2 separate regions of the Homo sapiens genome follow, and region 1 is linked to region 2. The links are contacts of gene promoters, found by promoter capture Hi-C in blood cells and fetal thymus (Javierre and others, 2016). All regions are on one chromosome and are shown on one strand. Each heading gives the region's core, a stretch centred on a gene start or on the middle of the fragment in contact. The rest is flanking DNA. Distances are from core to core; before and after follow the strand shown. Region 1 holds the start of GLB1L (galactosidase beta 1 like). Region 2 holds the start of STK36 (serine/threonine kinase 36).

What was found. The method cuts DNA at HindIII sites, captures the fragments that hold promoters and counts their contacts. A CHiCAGO score of 5 or more calls a contact.
Region 1: a contact is called between the fragment with the promoter of GLB1L here and a fragment that was not itself captured in region 2, in 1 of 17 cell types (total CD4 T cells). The highest score is 6.9, in total CD4 T cells.

What each region holds. Positions count from the first base shown.
Region 1 is chr2:219,241,200-219,247,615 of GRCh38, forward strand. GLB1L (galactosidase beta 1 like) reads right to left here and starts at 4,245. Exons shown (of 17, transcript NM_001286423.2): 1 at 4,030-4,245; 2 at 2,303-2,444; 3 at 1,949-2,115; 4 at 1,569-1,719; 5 at 1,315-1,375. The coding sequence starts at 2,374. It overlaps STK16 (serine/threonine kinase 16), which reads left to right and starts at 4,280. Exons shown (of 8, transcript NM_001330213.2): 1 at 4,280-4,597; 2 at 4,697-4,886; 3 at 5,458-5,677; 4 at 5,914-6,047; 5 at 6,216-6,336. The coding sequence starts at 4,801. RefSeq lists enhancers at 3,961-4,543, 3,992-4,421. The HindIII fragment of the contact is 6,920 bases long and covers 1,130-6,416 here.
Region 2 is chr2:218,670,042-218,676,337 of GRCh38, forward strand. STK36 (serine/threonine kinase 36) reads left to right here and starts at 2,045. Exons shown (of 27, transcript NM_015690.5): 1 at 2,045-2,174; 2 at 2,700-2,872; 3 at 3,584-3,724; 4 at 3,838-3,915; 5 at 5,302-5,432; 6 at 5,988-6,237. The coding sequence starts at 2,789. RNF25 (ring finger protein 25) reads right to left here and starts at 1,961. Exons shown (of 10, transcript NM_022453.3): 1 at 1,889-1,961. The coding sequence starts at 1,929. RefSeq lists an enhancer at 1,866-1,965. The HindIII fragment of the contact is 1,348 bases long and covers 4,109-5,456 here.

The DNA of each region.
Region 1 (6,416 bases), core at 2,995-5,494, 570 kb after region 2:
GAAACCCCATCTCTACTAAAAATACAAAAAATAGCCGGGTGTGTTGGTGGGCACCTGTAGTCCCAGCTACTCAGGAGGCTGAGGCAGGAGAATGGCGTGAACCTGGGAGGTGGAGCTTGCAGTGAGCCGAGATTGCGCCACTGCACTCCAGCCTGGGTGATAGAGCGAGACTCCATCTCAAAAATAAAACAAAATAAAAATAATATATATATATGTGTGTGTGTGTGTGTGTGTGTGTGTGTGTATATATATATATATATATATATACATACATATATATGTATGTATAGAGAGAGCGAGAGAGAGACCAGGAAGGCCTCACCAAGGTGACTTCTGCAGGAGGCTTGTGATGAAGGAGCACCACATGCAAAGGCCTCAAAGCCCAAGGCCTGGTGGGTCTGAAGAACAGCAATGAGGCCACTGTGGCTGGAGCAGAGTGAACATGGGGGAGAAGAGCAATAATGTCGAGGAGGTGACTGGGGCCAATTGTGTAGGACCTACCACTTTAAGGAATTTATGGTTCATATTCTGAATGAGATGAGAACCTACTAGAGAGGTTTAAGCAGAGAAATGACAAGATCTGAGATGTATCTTTAAACTTATACTTGAACAGGATCACACTGGCTACTCTACTGAGAACAGATTGTATGGGGGAGAGGGCAAACAAGGGAAACCAGTTAGGAAGCTATAAAATAAGCCAGCTGAGAGAGATGGTTTGGACCAGGGTGGGGGCAATGGGGGTGATAAAAAGCACTTAAATTTAATGTTTGTCAAGATACAGCTGATAGGATTTTCTCTTTTTTGAGACAAAGTCTCTTCAATCTGTCACCCAGGCTGGAGTGTAGTTGTTCAATCTCGGCTCACTGCAACCTCTGACCCCCGGGCCCAAGTGATTCTCCTGCATCAGCCTCCCAAGTAGCTGGGATTACAGGTGCCCACCACCTCGCCCAGCCAATTTTTTGTATTTTTAGTAGAGATGGGATTTTGCCATGTTGGCCAGGTGGGTCTCAAACTCCTGACCTCAGGTCATGCACCCGCCTGGGCCTCTGAAAGTGCTGGGATCACAGGCATGAGCCACCGCGCCCAGCTGTTTTTTTTTTTTTTAATCAGTTTCTTCCACTATATTATAAGCTTTACGGCACAAGGATGGGGGTCTGTCTGGTCCCCCAGTTTCTAGCATCCTGCTGGGCATGAAGGAAACACTTGGTAAATGAATGATGACCTCCAATTTGGGAATGGTCTCTTCTGCTTTTGGCACCCAAATAGCCCATTTTACTTACTTGCTTCTGTGTTAAATCCTTTGTCTCAACTCACCTGGATCTGAGGTTCTTAGATGAATTTCAGGTTTTCGAAGCAACCAGGATGGGAGACCCCCCTGAGACAAACATAAAGAGAACAAAGAAGCATGTAGGTTTTGTTTTGGGGTGTGGTGGGGAAGCTAGGAAGGGAAGGAAGGAAGGGAAGGAATTGAATATAGTGCTGGAGATGGCCCTAGAGTGTGGGCAGATGGGAGTAGTCTAGGAACTGCACAAGGATAACTGGTTCTATCCCTTCTCCAGCTAACTCACCATCTCCCACTCTGCACAGATGTAAGGTCCTGGTCTCAGTATGACCAACAGGTTCGCTAGAGCTGCCTCATTCAGAAAGGCAATGAGGTCCCGGCTGCCATTAAAGTTATAGACCCCAGGCTGTGGCTCGTGGTAGTTCCAGGGCACATAACTGAGAAAGGAAGAGGTTAATAGGAACCAAGGTGAAGAGACGCCAGGGAGGCCTAACGGCTCAGGCCTTGCAGGGAATCTCCAGGAAGCGGTTGGAAGGAGGTCCTGGCCTGCCCTTTCCCACCCTTGGCCTAGGAGTCCTGGCAGTCTTCCTGTCCCGACCTTCTTTATAAGGGGGCGGTAGAAAAAGTAGATCCCATCCCTCCGCGGCTCTTGCGAGCACTTCTTACAACTGTATGGCGTTGAGGCCGCTCCATCGCATCTTCAAAAGCCGGTCGGCCCAAAGCACCCGCGGTACCCGAAAGTAGTGCAGGCTGCCAGACACATAGCGGAACGGGGCCCCGTCTAGGAGAAACCGGTCATGACCCCTATCCACTACGAACGACCGAGTGTCTGCCTATAAAGAGAAAGAGACGCTGCTCAGCAGACGCCTGGAGGGAGCGTCGAGGGTCAGCGCCTGCCAAGAGCGGAAGAGATGGAACTAGCCCTGCGGGTTGTTTGGTTGTTACTTTGGACTTTCTCTCATCCGCTGGATCTGATCCCGCTCACCGCACCCGGCAGGCTGGTTCACCGTCTCATCTTACCTGGGGCAGCAGTAGCGTCAGGCTGAGCGGCAGCAGCAGGGAACGAAGGCAGGACAGCTTCTTGGGAGCCATGGCGTTTACAGCGCTCCTCTAGTCTGAGACGGCGGACAGACCGTCACGTGTCGGATTCCTGGGAGGGAACCTCAGCGAGCAAGGGGGCGGAAACCACCTCAAGTTGCCAGGCGTTTAGCCTGGACTTCCTCTCCAGCCTGCAGCCACCCCCTTACTCTACTAGTTTGTAAAATTTCTACATCATGTTAAAGTGCAGTTCACGAACCAGCTTCATCGACATCACCTGGGAACTTGTTAGAAATGGAGAATCTGGCTGGGCACGATGGCTCACGCCTGTAATCCCAACACTTTGGGAGGCCGAGGCGGGTGGATCACTTGAGGTCAGGAGTTCAAGACCAGCTTGGCCAACAGGGCAAAACCCTGTCTCTACTAAAAATACAAAAATTAGCCGGGCCTGGTGGCACGCGCCTGTATTCCAAGCTACTCCGAGGGTGGGGGTGGGGGTGGGGGTGGGGGTGGGGGTAGGGGCTGAGGCAGGAGAATTGCTTGAACCCGGAAGGCGGAGGTTGCAGTGAACCGAGATCCTGCCACTGCACTCCAGCCTGGGCAACAGAGCGAGACTCTGTCTCAAAAAACACAAACAAACAAACAAAAGAAATGTAAAATCTCAGATCCTACCTCAGACCTATAGAATCAGAATTTGTATTTTAACAAGATTCCCAGGTGATCCTAGGCACCTTCAAAATTGAGAAGCATGGCTTTACTTGACTGGGCTCCCTGAGGACAGGGAGTGCCCTGTTCATCTCAAATCCTCAGCCTCTAGCACAGGGCCGGGTATATAGTAGGTTAAATCTGGATGAATCAATGTCATAACCAAAAGGCTAAAACAGGTTCAGAACCAGGGGAAACCATTGGAAAATCTTCAGGGTGATCCGGGGTGTGGAAGGGAGGAACCAGGTCACAAGAAGGACCTCTTTCCTGGAGAGTCCTGTTTCAGCAAAACAGCCATTCCCTCCTGGCCATTCCACCTTCTTTGGAAGTGCACCCCTCTCCAGCTTACCCCTGCCTGCCTCCGCAACAGATATTAAGGACAACTGCTTTGTGCCAAAGCTCGAAAATCTGTGAATTTCCGTTCCTTTTGCCTTTACAGTCTCAAGAATGGGATGTGAAGATCAGGGTAATAATAATTACGGTTTATTGACACGTACTGAAGGCTATGTGTCAGATATTGTATTAAACACTGTACATCTCATTTAATCTTCAACTCCATGAGGTAGATAATTATTTCCATTTTACAGAGGAGGAGAGGAAAGGACAGAAACATTAAGTAGCCTGTCCAAGGTCACACAACTACGTTAACGGAGCTGTCATTTGAACTAGTCAGTCTGGCCTCACAGTTAAGCTACTTAACCTTATGTACTATTATACCTATTTTACAGCTACCAAAAGTAAGGATCCGAGAGGTTAAGTAACTTGCCCGAGGTTACACAGCTAGCATGCTATTAACACTCAATTTAGAAACTGGAAGTCTGGTTCACAAGCCTGAGCTCTTAACCACTGAGACTAGGGGTAGTGGGATACAGGCCAGAGCCCAGAAGGTTGTACGGGATCAGGAGACCAGGCCACCAGACCCGCCCCTCACTGGATCCCCCTCCAGGCTGCAGTGTAGTTGGCCGCTTTCTGCCCCAGAGCGCCAGAGGTATGAAGCCTCCTACCTCCAACATTGGGAGATGGAGGTCCTGGGGGCCTCGGGCCGAGCCCGGCTTTGCTCCCCTTTGGCGTAGGTGCCTGCGTCTTGACCCCCACCGAAGGCCAAGTAGAGAACCCTCACCAGGGTCCTGGGACCCGTCCACCCCTACACCTAGCTAGCCCGGAGCCTCTCAGCTCCGCGTCCCCACATCCTCCGGATGCCCAGCGGTTGCTGAGATACCGCGGGCCGTTACGCCGGCGCGGACTGATGATGTCAGCACTGCTTCCGGTCGGTGGCGCTTCTCTCTGGCCCGAGCCAGGTCAGTCCGGCAGTGCAGATGGCCCATCCCGGGCTCTGGGCTCCTAGACCGGGGTGGGCCCTGCCAGGAGTGGGCCTGAGCCTCGCACGTCCTCTGAAACTACGCTATGCTCTGCTTTTGCGGCGCGATGGGCGTGGGAGCGGGGGCTGCCCAAAGATGGGCTGGGGTTGGAGGAAGTGGCCCGGTAGCCGCTGTGTGTCCTGAGGCCGTAAGGCGCCTGACCCCACCCCTGAAGCTGGCGACGGAGCAGGGCCTGTTTTCTCTACACTATAGTGTAGGTTCCAGAGACCTGGGCCTGAGCTCTCCGCATTGGTACTTCATGGGTCGTCTGGATTGTGCCGGACCTGTGACCCTGCCGTTGTTTTCTTTCCAGCATGATCCGCTGGGCCCCCAGCGCATCTCCTGGAAGAGCCCACTCACCCTGGACGAGCTCTTCGGTAGCCTCAGACCGTCCTTGAAGAGGATGACTGAGACATTATGGGCCACGCGCTGTGTGTCTGCTCTCGGGGAACTGTCATCATTGACAATAAGCGCTACCTCTTCATCCAGAAACTGGGGGAGGGGTGAGTGTTTGGAAGTCAGTTAACTAGTCCTCAAGTTTATGATCATTGAAGGACAGCGGTGTGCATATGCTTGGGGCACAAGGGTTTTATCCCTATCCCTGTCCTCTCTCACCTGACAGAACCTAGCTACACAGTATCAAGAAGGTGGATTCTGGAGCCAGGCCTGCTAAATCCACCTCGTGTGACCTTGATAAACCATGTTTTTTTCATCAGCTTAATGGAGATGATTATTATCCCTCACTGATGGAGTTGTGAGGATTAAATGAGATAATGTGTATAAAATGTCTCACCCAATGCGGGGTTGACAAGTACTTGATAAGTGTTGGCTATTATTTATTTAGCATCTGTCAAGTGCAGAGGTCTCTATTACGACCATAGGACCTCAAAGATTTCTATATCTCTGCTCCTGAGGAGCTCACGGTGTAATATTCTTCAGATTTCTCTTAGAGCCACATCTTGGGAAGGTTTCTGCTAAATGGGAAGGACACCCCACTCCCCACCAGGAAATTTCTCTAGGTCCAAGCCATGTGGGAGATGACCATGGCCCTTTATTGACCCCTTTGGCCCACAGTGGGTTCAGCTATGTGGACCTAGTGGAAGGGTTACATGATGGACACTTCTACGCCCTGAAGCGAATCCTGTGTCACGAGCAGCAGGACCGGGAGGAGGCCCAGCGAGAAGCCGACATGCATCGCCTCTTCAATCACCCCAACATCCTTCGCCTCGTGGCTTACTGTCTGAGGGAACGGGGTGCTAAGCATGAGGCCTGGCTGCTGCTACCATTCTTCAAGGTCAGAAAGACTCCTGGTTATGGAGGGGGTTGCAGCAGAGCCACCTACTCAAGGGCTGTGTGAGCAGTCCAGCATGTTAGGAAGCAGGGACCATGTCCTGGGTTTGGCCACTTTAGATTTTGAGTTTGAGGTGTGTATCATGAAAGGGCTGATAGGCTTTGACATAGGGAAGGGATCAGGCCTAAGGAGCAGAGGCTCCAAAAACATCTCCAACTGTAGGGAAACTTGTGTTGCAGAGAGGTACGCTGTGGAATGAGATAGAAAGGCTGAAGGACAAAGGCAACTTCCTGACCGAGGATCAAATCCTTTGGCTGCTGCTGGGGATCTGCAGAGGCCTTGAGGCCATTCATGCCAAGGGTTATGCCCACAGGTCAGTGGGAGGACCCTGTGTGCTTGCTGGGGCCCAGAGGAAGAGCCTCACCAGGAGACATGGGAGGTCTCTGTTCTCCCAAGAAACAGCCTGTATGATTCTTTTGCTTGCTGGGATTCCAGCCTTCCTGTCCAGAGATGCTCATAGGTCACTTCTACTTCTCTACAGAGACTTGAAGCCCACCAATATATTGCTTGGAGATGAGGGGCAGCCAGTTTTAATGGACTTGGGTTCCATGAATCAAGCATGCATCCATGTGGAGGGCTCCCGCCAGGCTCTGACCCTGCAGGTAAAAGAGTCTCCAGGTTCCTTTTCTCACCTGTTCCCCATTCCCACCCCTTCTGGTGCATGTCCCAGTTTGGTCACATG
Region 2 (6,296 bases), core at 3,533-6,032:
ATCTCTACAAAAAATAAAAAATTAACTGGACACGGTGGTCCCAGCTACTTGGGAGACTGAGGCAGAAGAATCACGGGAGCCCAGGAGGTCGAGGCTGTAGTGAGCCATGATCTTGCCACTGTACTCCAGCCTGGGTGACAAAGTAAGACTCTGTCTCTTAAAAAAAAAAAAAAAAAAGAAGTTTCCCTGAACACTTTGAAAACCAGTAGTCTAGATACTCTTAATAACGGCCAGTACTAGCTGGGCTCCCTGAACCAATGTAACATTGAGGTGTAGCCTCAGTCAAGTGGCCCTTCAATACTTCGCCCACCCTAGTTATATGGGTCCTGGATGGGATGGTGGTAAGGTGGTGACAACAAAATGGGGGAGGGGGGCCGGGCGCGGTGGCTCAGGCCTGTAATCCCAGCACTTTGGGAGGCTGAGGCGGGTGGATCATGAAGTCAGGAGATAGAGACCATCCTGGCTAACAGGGTGAAACCCCGTCTCTACTAAAAATCACAAAAAATTAGCTGGGTGTGGTGGCGGGCGCCTGTAGTCCCAGCTACTCGGGAGGCTGAGGCAGGAGAATGGCATGAACCCGGGAGGCGGAGCTTGCAGTGAACCGAGATTGCGCCACTGCACTCCAGCCTGGGCGACAGAGCAAGACTCCGTCTCAAAAAAAAAAAAAAAAAAAAAAAAAATTGGGGGAGTGGGGACTGAAGAATGTCCTAGTACAAAGAATCTAAGGTGTGGAGTCAGACAGATATGGATTTCTATTCATAATTTTCTATCTTTTGGCAAATCACTTTACTTCTTTGGGACTCATCTAGTCTTCCCAGGTGCCTGCACCTCAGTTATTAATGAAAAGGAGGCCGGGTGTGGTGGCTCACGCCTGTAATTCCAGCACCTTGGGAGGCTGAGGTGGGAGGATCACTTGAACCCAGGGGTTCAAGACCAGTCTGGCCAACATGGCAAAACTCCGTCTCTACAAAAAATACAAAAATTAGCCAGGCATGGTGGCACACACCTGTAGTCTCAGCTACTCGGAAGGCTGAGGCAGAAGGATCACCTGAGCCTGGGGAGGTCGAGGCTGCAGTGAGCCGTAATCGCACCACCGCACTCCAGCGTGGGCGAGAGTGAGACTCTGTCTCAAAAAACAAAACAAAACAAAACAAAAAACAGACTTAAGTATATTACAAATCCGTCGTGATCCTCTCAACTATTCTGAGGTAAATGCCACACCCACTTTTTTTTTTTACAGCTGAGGACACTGACTCACAGAAGCTAGATGGCCTGTTCAGCATCACACAGCTAATAAAATGTGGAGTTAACCCACATTGATCCTACTTCCAAATCCCAGAGTCCTTCCATGTTCTAGTCTTTGGTTAAGAATGCTTGAGAGAAGGACTAGAGGGACTTTATATGAAGTGTAAAGCTTTATTCATACAATAGTCCTCACTAGTGCTGTGTGAGAGAGAGAAGGCTGAGGAAAGCGTCGGCGGAAAAAGGCTGATCCAAGGGGAAAGGGGGCCGGAACTGGAGGGCACTGGTTCTGAGAGGAGAAAGGGAGATGGGGAGGTCTGATGGGCAGGCATCCCCCAAAGCCCCTGAGAAAATTCATTTGAGGAGGAGAGAAAGGGATGGCGTGAAGCTGGAGGAAAAGGGATCGAACCGGATGCGGCGAGGCCTGAACTGGCCTGGCGGGCGCCGACCCGTTCTCCTCTCACTCAGATCAGCGCCCCTCCACCCTCCCGTTCCCCAGTCCAGCTTTCCCAGAGATGTCAGCATCTCTGCCATCCCTCATCCCTCGCTCCACCCCACACGCCCGCCGTACGGACCGTCTGCGACAGCTGCTAGGCCTCTGGACTAGATCCAGGCTGTCAGCCAAAGCCCATGCCCCCAAAGTTACCAGTCCTCCTCCCCTGCAGCTGCAGACGCAGACGCCGCCATATCTTCACCGGCCCGCAGCCGGAACCGGAAATGCCCTTAGGGAAGTCGGAGGCGGAAAACTAAGAGGGGTGGGCAGCTAGCGTCGTTTCTAGGCAACCGCAGACTCCGGGTCCTTAGCCGGGCCTGATGGCCCTGAGGCAGTTCGGATGTGTCCCAGGAAGTGCCCATGTGTGGTCCGCCGTCCATTCCACACCTCTGAGCGCCTTTGTCCTCTGAACTTCTCACCAGTTCTAGCGAGTAAAATTGTAAGAAAGGGAGCCGAAAGAGACCGGAGGGAGAGGCGGGTGGAGAAGAATTATAAGTCAGGCAACGTATGCAGGCAGCCAGAAGAGATGGGGCTAAACGCCAGGGAATCCGTCCCTTGGCCTGAGGAGCTTGGAGCTCCTAGGCTGGGGGTGAGAGAGGGGCTCTGGCCTGCGAAGCGCACGGGCCAGGGGGTCTGAGAGCGGGTGCTGAGGAGTCTGGGAGTGGCAGGAACTTGGGGGAGACTCAAAGGAGCAGGGTTGGTTGGGCGAGGCTAGGTTGAAAGAGTAGGGTCGAGTGAGCCAGGCTGGGTGAGGGAGAAGGGGAACCAGGTGTTAGTTGGGCATGGGGCCGGGTTGGGGACAGGAGGATGAAAGTGGGGAGGAACTACAAAGAGAAGCTCTGTTTGTTCCAAGAGCGCATCATCTTTGCATGCATTCCACCCTCCCATGTTTTTTGAGGCTTTATTGTGAAAAAGAGGAAAAGGCAAGGTGGCTAACATTTTTCCTTTCCCGTGCCCCAACTAGGCGTCCCAGATGTTGTGGAACTGTCCCTGGATCTATAGCTCTTCACCGTCTCTACTTTCTTCCTTCTAAGAGATCCTGAAACCTCTGTCATGGAAAAGTACCACGTGTTGGAGATGATTGGAGAAGGCTCTTTTGGGAGGGTGTACAAGGGTCGAAGAAAATACAGTGCTCAGGTGTTGCACAAAGAGGGATACCTTTTGGGTGGGATTTGGTACCCCCAACTCCAGTGGAAAATGGATCTAGAAGGAATGTATTTATACCAGTTTGTATTCCTAAGGTACTGACTCCCTCATACTTCTTATGGAGTATAAGCTTTGAAGTTGGATTATTTGGGTGCAAATTCCATCTCCACCGCTTTCTAGCCCTAGAATTATGGACAAATTACTTAACTTCCCTATGTCTCAATTTCCTTATCTCTAGAATGGGGATAAGAACAGCAACTGATTGATGGAGTTTGAGGATTAAATATGTTTTCACATTAAATCACTTAGTACAGTGCCTGGCTGTTAGTAAACAACAAATATTATTAGTCTCTAGCACACCATGTAATAAGAGGTAAACCACTTGAACTCTATTATTTCCTCTTCATTTTTTTTTTCCTTTCCTTTCTCCTAAATCTCATCTTGAGTGCTGGTCAAATCAGAACACTTCTTCCAGAAGGGGAAATGTTTTGCAGATGCTGTTTCCTCCTGGGATGAGGAATGGGGAAAGCCTGGATAAGGCCAGGGTACCATGGAGAAAATGGAAGCGGGAGACTAACAGAAATAATAAGAGTTACTCAAACACTCTAAAATCTGACTTCTGGAGCTCTGAGATTAAGGCTGAAATTCTAGATCTTTTCAGTAGTGTGATTAGGCGTTAACTTTTCACCTTACCACTGACAGGTCGTGGCCCTGAAGTTCATCCCAAAATTGGGGCGCTCAGAGAAGGAGCTGAGGAATTTGCAACGAGAGATTGAAATAATGCGGGGTCTGCGGCATCCCAACATTGTGCATATGCTTGACAGCTTTGAAACTGATAAAGAGGTGTGCTTTGACAGTTTTGGGCCCTGTCTCCCCAAGCACAAGGGTTCCAGGAATTTCCCAACCTCAGAATGCATGAATCTGGAGCCATCAGTGCCACTGCCTTCTCTCTGTAGGTGGTGGTGGTGACAGACTATGCTGAGGGAGAGCTCTTTCAGATCCTAGAAGATGACGGAAAACTTCCTGAAGACCAGGTATGCTTTCTGCCTTCAACTTCTCCCCACCTCCGACCTCTCTCCAGGTTAGAGAACTGGTAGAGCAAGCTAAGGACACTGAGAGTCTCCATTTCAAAGACTTCTGAGAAGAATATAAGAGTCTAGGTATATAGAGGCAGTGTAGTGTGGGAGTAAATTATGTAAACGTTGGAGTCAAAATATCTGAGCAGGAAGCTTGGCTCTGCTCCTTCCTAGCTGGGTCTCATTGGACAAGTTACTTTAATTTCTTTGTGCTTAGTTTCCTAATTTGTAAAATGGAGATAATAATCATGTTTGCCTGATAAGTCTATGATGAAGAGTGTTAAGTCATGTAATGTGTTTGAATAGTTAGCTATTATTAACATTATTGTTATTAGATACCTTTAGGGAAGAAGGGCCAGTGTAATGGTACCAGAAAGAGGGCAGTAAGAATAAAGGTTGTGGGGAGTCAGGATTTGGCACCAGGACGTAGTGGTTAGCAGTGGGATTTTGTTGCACATATCCTCCAGCCACATTTATTCTAGGCGTTTGTCTGTACCCAAGCAAGTAGGCCCCCCCTGGGATTCATTATTGCAGCATTCTCTTTCCTTCTGAGCACTCACCACTATTTGTAAGTAATCATATTTTTGAAATTATTTTATTTTTAATTGAATTTTATTTTTTGAGACAGAGTCTCGCTTTGTTGCCCAGGCTGGAGTGCAGTGGCACAATCTTGGCTCACAGCAAACTCCGCCTTCCAGGTTCAAGCAATTCTCGTGCCTCAGCCTCCCCAGTAACCAGGATTATAGCATGCGCCACCATGCCTAGCTAATTTTGTACTTTTAGTAGAGATGGGGTTTCACCATGCTGGCCAGGCTGGTCTCGAACTGCTGGCCTCAGGTGATCTGCCCGCCTCAGCCTCCCAAAGTGCTGGTATTACAGGTGTGAGCCACCACGCCCGACCACCATATTTGTTTTATCTGTCTTGTTTGTTTGTCTGACTACTTTTCTTGAAAAAAGGCATTTTGTCTTATTTAATAACAGGTAATGTGTATTGAATATTTACTATGTGCCAGGCACCATTCTGAGTATTATTTTGCATGCTTTAACTCAGTCCTCACAATAATCCTCCATGTAGATGGTGTTATTATATAGATTGTCACCTTAGTTTGCCCATGGTCAAGCAGATAGTAAATGAGATTCAATAAATTTTTCTTGAATGAATGAATGAGCAAATGAAAGAGTGATTAAACAAGGGGAACAATAACTAAGAAAGAATAGTGTGAAGCTCTGCAAGAAAGGGAAGGAAGAAAAGATTAGCAGTAATATTAAGAGAAATTTTTGGGCTTGTCAGCCAGCTGCTGTTTCTAACCTTTTTTTTCTTTCTTCCACCTCTTTAATTTCTAGGTTCAGGCCATTGCTGCCCAGTTGGTGTCAGCCCTGTACTATCTGCATTCCCACCGCATCCTACACCGAGATATGAAGCCTCAGAACATCCTCCTCGCCAAGGGTGGTGGCATCAAGCTCTGTGACTTTGGGTAAAGATTCTGAGCATCCATCTAAGCTTCCAGTTCCACACGGAATCTTTTTTTTTTTTTTTTTTTTTGAGATGGAGTTTCACTCTTGTTACCCAGGCTGAAGTGCAATGGTGCGATCTCCACTCACCACAACCTCTGCCTCCCGGATTCAAGCAATTCTACTGCCTCAGCCTCCAGAGTAGCTGGGATTACAGGCATGTGCCACCATGCCTGGCTAATTTTATATTTTTAGTAGAGATGGGGTTTCTCCATGTTGGTCAGGCTGGTCTCGAACTCCTGACCTCAGGTGATCTGCCCACCTCGGCCTCCCAAAGTGCTGGGATTACAGGCATGAGCCACTGAGCCTGGCCCCACAGGGAATCTTAGACCATACTCTTGACTTATTTGGGCCTCATTTTAGAACCGGAGCTAGAGGCTGGGACTGCTGCTGGGTCTTCTGGAACCTAATCAAAGGTGCTCCCTCTGCTCCGGTTTGGGATATCTCTATGTTAGGTAGTAGTGACCAGGTTTAGAATATCTTTTCCCTTTCCATTTCCATCCCATTATCTTCTGCAGATTTGCCCGGGCTATGAGCACCAATACAATGGTGCTGACATCCATCAAAGGCACACCACTCTATATGTCTCCAGAGCTGGTGGAGGAGCGACCATACGACCACACAGCGGACCTCTGGTCTGTTGGCTGCATACTATATGAACTGGCAGTAGGCACCCCTCCCTTCTATGCTACAAGCATCTTTCAGCTGGTCAGCCTCATTCTCAAGGACCCTGTGCGCTGGCCCTCAACCATCAGTCCCTGCTTTAAGGTAATGAATATTGAAAGGGAGATGACTTTTACATTAGAAATCTGTCTCCCTCTATCTCT